2 separate regions of the Homo sapiens genome follow, and region 1 is linked to region 2. Evidence: promoter capture Hi-C in 16 types of primary human blood cells and fetal thymus (Javierre and others, 2016). All regions are on one chromosome and are shown on one strand. The core of a region is centred on a gene start or on the middle of the fragment in contact, and the rest is flanking DNA. Distances in the headings are between cores, read along the strand shown.

What was found. Contacts are between HindIII fragments. The CHiCAGO score rates a contact against its expected background, and 5 or more counts as called.
Region 1: the fragment with the promoter of BIN1 here is called in contact with the fragment with the promoter of SFT2D3 in region 2 in 8 of 17 cell types (total B cells, total CD8 T cells, M0 macrophages and 5 more); the score reaches 8.3 in total B cells.

The regions. Positions count from the first base shown.
Region 1 is chr2:127,103,453-127,108,459 of GRCh38, forward strand. BIN1 (bridging integrator 1) reads right to left here and starts at 3,702. Exons shown (of 19, transcript NM_139343.3): 1 at 3,408-3,702. The coding sequence starts at 3,491. It overlaps LOC105373605 (a long non-coding RNA gene), which reads left to right and starts at 3,693. Exons shown (of 4, transcript XR_923311.4): 1 at 3,693-4,363. RefSeq lists an enhancer at 278-830 and silencers at 3,550-3,759, 3,641-3,935, 3,770-3,829. The HindIII fragment of the contact is 12,156 bases long and covers 1-5,007 here.
Region 2 is chr2:127,698,730-127,704,007 of GRCh38, forward strand. It overlaps SFT2D3 (SFT2 domain containing 3), which reads left to right and starts at 2,768. Exons shown (of 1, transcript NM_032740.4): 1 at 2,768-5,278. The coding sequence starts at 2,800. The coding sequence ends at 3,447. WDR33 (WD repeat domain 33) reads right to left here. Exons shown (of 22, transcript NM_018383.5): 22 at 2,298-5,278. RefSeq lists enhancers at 1,290-2,489, 1,484-2,005, 1,717-2,086, 2,006-2,527 and a silencer at 2,847-3,526. The HindIII fragment of the contact is 7,289 bases long and covers 1-5,278 here.

The sequences.
Region 1 (5,007 bases), core at 2,452-4,951, 590 kb before region 2:
CCTCTGCCCAGCTGGCCCTCCCCACTATCCAGCCTGCACCCCTCCAGCATGCTCAGGACCTGCCGGGAGGGAGGGACAGCATGCACACTCCCACCCTGCCAGAGCCTTCCTCCTGTGCTCACTGTCAGCCCAGCGTGGTCAGAGAAAGGCCCAGCTCCGTCAGGCCGGCTCCATGAGGACTCCCAAGCCGTGGGCCTTCAGGGGCCAGCAGGCCAGATCCCCACCCCCTCAGCTGTCCTTCTCCCCAGGCGCCCCATCCCGCGAGGGGCCCAGCCTGCCAACCTCTAATCCTCCCCGTCATCTGACCCAGGCTCCACCCTACACTGGCTTTGCCTAGCCACTCTTCTGAGGCCCAAAAATGGACACAATCATTTATAGAGGGTTCGACAAGCCAAACGCAATGGGAAGATGACCTCACGGCGCCCACAGGCTCAAGCTCCCAGCACACACAGTGCACCCCACGCATTCCGGGGGCAGTGGCCAGGGGGCCAGGAGCAATGGTGCCATGCTGGAGGCCCTGGCAACCCTTCCAATTTATTCTCATACCCTCCTCACACCAAGGCCACAGGCCATGGGACCTTCAAGAAAAAGCTCCAGACAGGCCAGACACATGCACCCTGCCTGAGACAGCATCGGGGACTCAGCCCAGGAGGCACTGGGCCTGTGTCCAGGCAGGATTTGATGAATGAGTGATGGCAGAGAACAAACAACACAAATCAATCCACCATCAGCCTGCGTCAGGCCCAAATCCCTTGTTCAAAAACATTCACTAAGCACCGACTGGGGCCAGGTAACATCCTCAATGCACACACCTGGATGTGCCCTGCCGTGCCCTCAGGGATCAGCCAGACCAGTGGTGGAGGCAGAAGGGTCAACAGGTAACAACAGTCAAAAAAGAGCTGGCTTGGGGACCCTACAAGAGTGCAGGCTGCCCTTGACCACACTGTCACCCTCACAGTCTGGATGTTTGTTTGGGCTGGAAGTGGATGTGGGAAGGCCGGGGGTGAAGGGTGGATGCAAGATACGGGCCCTTCTTCCTACGCCAGGACGCCAGGACTCTCCCAGCCTCCCAGCACAGCTCCTGCCATCCTTGCTCAGGAAACGCCTTCCTGTAGCCACAGGGAAACTGGAATTGCCCTATTACCCACTGATTTCACCAAGGCAAGGTAGGTATAGTGGTGGGGCTGCCTGTAAGAGACTAGGATTCCAGTTTCATTGACAGTGGGAGTTAGAGGCGGCACTGATCACCAACAGAAGACACTGAGGATGACCCTCCAATGATGGCACAGACTCTACAGGAAGGCACACAGCAGAGGCTGCTGTGGGTTGAGGCATGGGGCTTCCTGCGAGCAGGGCCTGCAACCCAAAGGGAGGGGAAGGCTACTTTCAGAGACCTGGCCTGGATGCCTGTCATGATGGTCATGCTGCCTTGGTTTCTGATGGGGGGAGGGTCCCTAACTAGTCTCCGGCAGGCAGAGAGCAGCTGGAACACTAAACAACTCCAGTCCCAGGAAGCCCGGCATGGGCAAGGTCAGCTGTTGGCCAAGACCAGCATGCCTAGCTGACCAACTGTCAGCCAACTGCCCGTGGCCACAGAACAGGGGCTCAAGAGAGAGGGATGGTGTCTCAGGAGCTCAGTGATACATCACCACCTCCTTGGAGGGGACACAGCCCTTGCCTACTGCCCCGAGAATGACATCAAAGATGCTGCTGCAGAGAAAAGACAACCAGGGCAAAGGAGACACACCAAGAGCCTTGGGGAGCCAGGAAGGGGTGGGACACCAGTGGGAAGGGGGCAGGGAACACAGCTCAGCTAACCTCCCTTCCCATTCATCTCCCTGGCCCTTTAGGGAAGGAAGCAGGCTCTGGCCCAGGGCTGCCTGCTCCAGGCACACAGATGGATTACCCAGTCATGGCAGCCCGGAGCAGGGGTGGCTGCATCTGTGCTGCCACCCCCCCACCCCACAACCTGAAGTCTTCCCAGCCCCCAGCCAGCTATTCCTGGGGCTTTAATCCCTCCTCCTCCTCCTCCTCCTCCTCCTCCTCCTCCTTCCCTGGGGTGGGGGGTTGGGGAGCTGGGTCTGGGCAAACCTGGACTTGGCTGAGGGCCCTTCCTTCAATGCACACCCACCCACCTCCTTAGCCAGGAAACACAGGGATGAGCAGTAGGACTCTGAGGGAGGTATGGGGAAGCTCTAGGCGCCCCCCTCTCCCCCATCCCCCAGCAATCACGTGGTTGCATCCTTAGGGAGCCCGCGGGTCTCAGAAGCAAAAGTCATTGTTTATAAACAGCCACCAGGCCTGGCAGGGGAAGGCCGGCCTGTCCCTGCGCCTCCACCCGGCGGCCGCGCAGCGGGTGGGAGAGGGGGCAGGCCTGGCCGCGGGGCACTGGGGGGCCACCCTGGCAGAAACACAGATTCTGCAATCTCAGATTTCAGAGTTGGAGTCGTCAGGGGAAGTGGCGTCAGCAGCTGGCGTGATCCAATTCAATAAACCAGAGGTGGCTTGGGATAGACAACTGACCGGGTGCAGACCCCCGCCCCTCAATCTCTGCATTTCCTGCACGCTCTGGGCACCCTGGGAGGCCCCGGCTCCATCCCCCATTCCAGCTCTCCGCGAGGAGGGGTCGGGTTTCCTGTGGCGCCTTCCACGCGCCTCCTCCAGGCCAGCTCCCCACCCGGCCGTGGGCTCCCAAAGCCAGTGCCGCCACCCGCTCCCCGGCCGCCGGAAACGCTAAGCCCCTGCTGGGGCGAGGGCACCTCCTTGCGGGGTGCGTAGCCCTGGGCTCCCGGTGGGGCCGGGCTGGGCGGGAGCTTCCAGGCCGCAGGCACCTCTCGGGAAAGGAAACCCAATCCCTCCTTCGGCCCACGGAGAACGAAAGTGGAGAAGCAGTGGGAAGGAAGGAACTGTGGGTGCCGGTTCGAGAAGCAGCCTTGGGAGTCCGGGGGAATAGTGTCCCCAGGGGCAGAGGGACATACTCCCTCTCGCCCCGAGCGCCGGCCCAGCCTAGGTTGCCTGCATGGGCCTGGAGAGCTGAGGGTCACCACCTGGCCTCCCAGCCTCCCGGCCCTTGGCCTCCAAAGCGGGGTAGCCTGGAGCGCGCGCCTGAGAAGAGCCTGGAGCAGGGCCGGCCACTGCTGTGCAGCCGAGCCACGAAGGTGCAAAGCGGGGCCCTGTCCTGCCCCGGCCGGGTGTGGGGAGACAGAGGACGCAAACCTAAGAGGGCACCCAGAGCGCCGGGGAACGCAGCCTGGGGACCTCGAAGCCCCTCGAAAGCGCTCCTCTAGAGGTGACAGCACCAGATCCTGGCGAAGGACCAGGCCCCGGGGTCGGAGGATAGGGGGACAGGTGGCCGGGGCTCCGCGGCGGCTGGGACTCCGCGGCTGCTGGGGCTCCGGCTCGCTCACCTTCTCCTGCGCGCGGGTGAGCTTCTTCTGCACGTTGCTGGCGATCTTTCCCGCCGTCACCCCTTTACTGCCCATCTCTGCCATCGCGGCGCAGGCCTCGCCCGGTGGCAGGGGCCGCTCTCGCGCGGGGAGATCTTGCGCGCCGCGCTCCCAGCCCCCAGCCCCGGCCGCGCGTCCAGACCGGCTGCCGCTCCACGCCGCGCACCCGACAGCGGAGCCAACTGACGGAGGCGGAGCGTGCGCCGGACGGGCGAGCGAGCCAGCGAGCTAGCCAGCGAGCGACGCGGGGACAGAGGGAGGGAGAGGGGAGGGGCCGGGCCTCAGGCCGCGGTCGGCGCCCCCCGCCCGCCCCCTCCGGACAATAAGCTGCCTTTTAAAGGGCCACTCCGGGCGCCGGCACCGCCAGGTCCGCGAGGAGGGAGGGGCGCGCGCGGCGCTGGGGCTGCGGCGAGCGGGACTCCCCTGACGCTCCAGCTGCACCGCCCCGGGGCGGGGACTAATCCGCCGGCCTGGCGTCTTGGTCTTCCCCGCAAGCAGTAATCTCCTGCAACCCAGGAAAGGAGACTAGGTGGAGGAGAGGAGTGCTTTCGAAATCAAAGAGAAAGTGCGGCGAAGGGGGCGCGGCCCTGAACAGAGGAGCCGCGGCTGCTGGGAGAACGCGCCCGGAGCCCCCTCCTTTTCCAGGGGCTCACCTCCCGCCCGGTGCCCGGTGCCCGGTGCCCGACGCTCCGCCTCCTCCCAGCCTTCGGCCCTCGGGTTTTCGCCCGGATACCCTAGGCGCCTCCGGGACATCTCCACATCTTTGCCTACGGCGCCTAGCCCAGTACCAACCGGTGCTTGGTCTTCCCGTTCGCTAAAAATTTATTATAATAACAACAACCTAGCATTACTGAGTGCTTACTGTGTACTAAGTGACTTGACAGGCATTATTTCATTCGGTCTCCGTGGCCCTAGAGGTAGGTGCTATTACTGTTCCTACTTTACAACCAACGCGCCGGGATCGAGGAACGAGATCTCTGCCTCTGTCTCCCAGGTGCTCCACCACCATACGCCGGGTTGTCTCCTACCCCCAGCAGGAAGGAATGATTAGTGATCATTATTCCTGGAGAAGATAAGGTTATTGCTAACCAGCTTTGCCAATAGACCAATGACACTTCTTTTAAGTTAATAAATACGTATTGAGTCTGCTGATACCCACCCCCATTCAGCCCTAAAACATGTCAGGGGCTACAGCACTTTGCTGCCCCTGGAAATTTCTAAAGAACTGTTGATTGAGTTGAGCAGAGAGATAGGTCCCGCTGAAGAGGCCTAGACGTGTCTGGTGCACACACAGGAGCCAGGGCTATGGCCTGCAGGACCCGCAGCGGTCAGAGGAGCAGAGCTGGCCAGGGACAGAGGTCCCTGAGAGGCTTCCTGGAGGAACAGGAAGGGCTCTTGCAGACCACAAACCAAGCAGTTTGTACAAATGGAGAAATCGAGTCCCAGGAATGAGAGGTTCAGCCTGGGTTCACACAGGCCATTCCCTCTTCCCTGGAAGGCCCTCCTGCTCTTTCTCCGGCTACTCGGGGTTCTTCCACCACCGCTCAGTGCTGCCCCATGG
Region 2 (5,278 bases), core at 1,518-4,017:
AGGTGGGGAGCACTGGGGGAGTGACATCATCTGACTCAGTGGACAAAGGTCCCTCAGGCCGATGTGTGAACAACCGTGAGGAAAGCATGGACCAAAACAGGGGCTCCGTGGTGGGGTGCAGGGGGGCGCCCAGATGTGGGGTTAGTGGTGGAGGAGAGAATCGGCTGGTACTGGATCTGTTTCCAAGGTAGAGCTGGTGGGACTTGCTGATGGGGTGCGATTTCTTGAGGTGCGGAAGGAGGGGTTAGCTACAGGTTTTGGGGGATGAGGAGGGGAAGTCAGGAGTGAAGTGTTTGGTTCTGCATGTCACCTCCAGGGTGTCTATTAGATGCCCGGTGGAGAAGTGGGGGACGCTCTGCACGCAGAGGGTTTTAACAACACGGGCTGGGCCAGAGGGTGCCGAGAGAGAAAAGAGGGGATATCCCAGGCGCAACAACGCTGAGGTCTCAGGAGGAGGAACAGTCAAGAGAGGAGCCCACGGTGCCGTCCTGGGGCTGAGGGCCGAAACTCACCGCACTAGCCGACAGCGTCTGGCGATTTTGTAATGAACAATTTTGCTGGCACGGTGGAACGAAGGCCTGGTTGAAGGGCTTCAAGGGAGACAGGGAAGCAAGTGAAGATGATTGTTAGGATGAGTTTTGCTGCAGTGCTAGAGGAGAGTGGGTTTTGTTAATGACCTTCCCTCCCTGCAACCAAACCACAGCAGAAAGCGCATCCAGGGCTCACACAGAGGGACCCTCAGTGAAGGCCTCTTTCTGCAATGGGAAGCCCACAAGGTTAGAAACCAGGAATCACAACCTAACGCTGCCCTATCGTCAGTTTTGTAGGTGACCTTGAGTAGGTTACCTCACTTCTTGGTATTTCTCAGCTTCCCTCACCTATAAAATGAGCAGCACACTCCTGCCTTTTCTATACGGTAGCTGCATAAATGATTAGGTAACATCACTGATGGGCATTTATGCACCCAGTCCACTTTCTAGCTCTGTGTATTTGACTACTCTAAGTACCTCACAGAAGTGGAATCATGCAGTATTGGTCCTTTTTGTGACTGGCTTATTTCCCTCAGCCTAATGTCCTCAAGGTTCATCCATGTCGTAGCATGTGTCAGAATCTCCTTCCTTTTTAAGGCTGCGTAACAGTCCGTTGTATGCATATATCACATTTTATTGATCTGCTGGTGGACACTTGGGTTGCTTCCATCTCTTGACTGACATGAATAGTTCTGCTGTGAAGAGTTATACAAATCTCTGAGACCCTGCTTTCAATTCTTTGGGGTATATATCCAGAGTGGAACTGCTGGATTGGATTGTAATTATATACACACATACACACATAACTGTATACAAATATGTGTGTATATACGTTTATATGTGTCTGTGTGTGTGTGTGTGTATATATATATATATATATTTTTTTTTTATAGTAACTTCCATACTGTTTTCCACAGCGGATATAGCATTTTACATTCCCACCAACGGTGCACAAGGCTTCTAGTTTCTCCACATCCTTGACAGCACTTGTAACTTTCTGGTGTGTTTTTGTTTTTTTGTTTTGATTGTAGCCATCCTAATGGTTTAGCCCATGCTAAGTGATCAGGCTGGTCACTATTATTATCAAGTGAGATAACAAATCAGAATATATTTTGAAAAAGAATTGCATCTGCCAGGATCCAACCAAGAAAACAGAAAGCATTAAAAGGAACTTAATGGGGGAGATTAGTTACACACAGGGGATGGAAAGGCTGAGAAGCCAAACAGCAGGAAGCCGTTAACCTTACATCCACCTAGGGCAGAGGACAAAGGACACAGGGCCACCCAGGGGAAGCCAAGGTGGTGAGGGGAGCTGTGGAGGCAGCTGGAAGAATCTGGAGGAATCTGACCTGTGAGAGGAACCACAAGCAAACACCCTCTAGGAGGCTCTGAGAAACAGCAGGGCACGTGGGTGCGGCCTGGGAACAGATCAGGATTGACCTGCGTGCGAGCCAGCTTGTCACAGTGATGTGACGATGAGTCAGGACACCTGGGCGTGGCGCTGTCCAGAGCACGAGAGTGACACCAAACACATGGGACAGCAGCACCGAGTCTTGGACAAGGGGCGCGAAGGAGTCAAGGATGTTGCCAGGCCTGTGGCCGAAACTGAGAACAGAATAGAGAAGCAGGTTGAGGGTGCTGGGTGTCAACCCTTCCTTTATCAACCCCATGGTAAATGATCAGGATGGTCACTATTACTACAAGTGAGGTAACTAATCAGAACGCAACTTTCCCCAAAAAACCCACCTGAGTTACACAGGTCTGAACTTTTTTAAAAATTAAATTTTTATTTTGAGATCACTGTTTGTGTTCAGTTGTAAGAAACAAGAGAGATTCTGTGTACCCTTTACCCATTCCTCCATGTTGCAAAACTAGCACAATATCACCGCCACGGTAGACGCAGTGAGGCCATAAGACATTTCCGTCAGCAAAAGGGTCACTTCTTGTGCCCCTTTAGAACCACACCCACCCCTGCCTTCCAACTATTAATGCTGGCAGGACTTAGCCAGACCGCAAGGGCGCCTACTCCGAACAAGGAAGAGGGTCAGGCGCTGGGAGGGCGACTGCAAGCGGACAGGCAGCACCTGCGACCACGGTACTTGGGGACACCACAAAAGTCCGCAGAGCAGGCACCGCGGCACTTCCGCGAGCGCCGCAGGCCCTGCCCCTTTCGCCGTCGCCGACCAATTGCCGCCCGAAGACCGAACCGCTTCAGCGGAGGGCCGGAAGTGAGCCGCAGCTTTTCCTTTCTGCCACCGCCTTGTCCAAGATGGCGGACCTCCACCGCCAGCTGCAGGAGTACCTGGCGCAGGGGAAAGCTGGCGGCCCGGCGGCCGCGGAGCCGCTGCTCGCCGCGGAGAAGGCGGAGGAGCCCGGGGACCGGCCGGCGGAGGAGTGGCTGGGCCGCGCGGGCTTGCGCTGGACGTGGGCGCGGAGCCCTGCGGAGTCGGCAGCGGCCGGCCTGACGTGCCTCCCGAGCGTGACGCGCGGGCAGCGGCTGGCGGCGGGCGGCGGGTGCCTGCTGCTGGCTGCACTGTGTTTCGGCCTAGCCGCGCTCTACGCACCGGTGTTGCTGCTGCGCGCGCGCAAGTTCGCGCTGCTCTGGTCACTGGGCTCGGCGCTGGCGTTGGCGGGAAGCGCGCTGCTGCGGGGCGGCGCGGCGTGCGGACGCCTGCTGCGCTGCGAAGAAGCGCCGTCCCGGCCCGCGCTGCTCTACATGGCAGCGCTGGGCGCCACGCTGTTCGCCGCGCTGGGCCTTCGCAGCACGCTGCTCACGGTGCTGGGCGCGGGCGCGCAGGTGGCCGCGCTGCTGGCCGCGCTGGTTGGGCTGCTGCCCTGGGGCGGCGGCACCGCGCTGCGCCTCGCACTGGGTCGCCTGGGCCGCGGCGCCGGCCTCGCCAAGGTGCTGCCCGTGTGAGGACCTCGCGCCCTCGCCGCTGGGGAAGTACGCGGAGCCAGCGCCGTCGGAGACCGCGCCGGCCGAGCTGAGGACTGCACGCCGCTGTGCGGAAGCCCGTGGCGAAGGCCCTGCCCTAACAGCCTGCGAGTCTAATCCGGGAGCGGCTGCTGCCAGCGGAGGCGACAGCAGCGTTGGGAGCTCCTCGATGTCAGCTTTTTGTGCTGGACTTGGCACACGCTCTGAAAACTGAGATTTTGTCATTGAACTGGTGACAGGATGTGAGACGGTTATTAGAAGTTGCTTTCGAAGTAACTGTGGTCTTAGGTTCGGCTGAGTAAAGAAAAAGGATTTTTCTTCGAGTTAGCTGCTCTTGTGATTTTTCTCAGGCTGTTTTGTCATTTTAAAATCCAGTGGTAGATGTAGCTTAGCGACGGTAGTTTTTTGTTTTGGCTATACTAAGACTTGGAAATTATTCTCTCCAGTGTCAGCGAATCCAGAAGGGTATCAGATTAAACACCGAATTCAGCCACTGGACTTTTAAAAGTACTTAAGATGGTTTATCTCGGGTTTTTTCTTCAGTTAACAAAATCATAAATATGGTGCCTTATAACATGAAAGGAAAATTAGTTGTGTATTTCACGACGAAAGCGACGGACCAAAAGAAATTTCCTGCCCCAAGAAGCATGGGATCCAGGAAGGGGCGCGTAGATGCTTAACGGTCTCTTCGGAAATCCTGCAAATAGAAAGATAATTCTAGATCCGGAATACCTGTATCTGGTGGAAACCATGGATTTCTACAAGCTCGAATTATTCCTCATTGTATAGCCTGCTTTGTAAACTAGTTTACAATTTGCAGGCTGATCTTAAGATTTTTTTATATCTAATTGCTGCTGCCTTCATTTTAGGTTCAGCAGTTACTTTTAACTACCTTAATTTATTGCCAGAAGGTATGAGCCTAACATTCTGATGAGTCCAGAAAACTACGTTTTGTCAGTAGCAATACACTAGGAAGTAAAATATATTTAGAATTTAAACATTGTGTGCCAGTGGTCCTCGCGCTTGACTGCACATCAGTTACTTGAAGAGCCACACCTCAGATCAATGCAGTCAGAACCTGGGAAGTAGGTCCCAGACATCAGGACCTTTTTAAAGCTCCCCAAGTGATTCTACGTTCCCCAAGTTTGAGGACCACTTTTCTGTGCATTGGCTTGCACAATTTGAAAGTAATGCTTTTCCTGAGCTGGATCCCAGTGTTGCCTTAACAGGGTGTCTGTCGTGCCGCAGTAGAGCACTGCTGCTTCCTCCAACCCCAAAATTTATGTTCCTAAGTAAGTCAGGTCCCTAAGCCCCGTCCCAAGAAGTGACACAAGTGGCCAACATCCACACTGTAGGCTTGCAGGCTACCCGCCCTGAGATTTGGTAAAGAACACTGCCTTGTTCCCCATCAGTAAACAAGGTTACCTACCTCAGGAGGCTGCTTGTGAGAGAGCAAATGCAGTATCTTCAGAATGATTTATTTTTTTAATTAATTGTAAAGACTTGTGCCATTGGCTGCTCTTTCTAGTCCCCTAAATTTCTGTTCTAGTTTTAAATTTCTCTAGAACTTGCAATAGTTGGGGGTTTTATAATGATGTTTTACAATGTTTATTTCTTAAATAAAAACTTAAAAATTCAACATTTCTCAGCTGGTGGCTCACACCTGTAATCCCAGCATTTTGGGAGGCCAAGGCGGGAGGATCACTTGAGGCCAGGAGTTCAAGACCAGCCTGGGCAACACAGTTAAACCCCATCGCCACAGAAAATCTTCAAAAAATTTGCCAGATATGGTGGCACACAACTGTGATCCCAG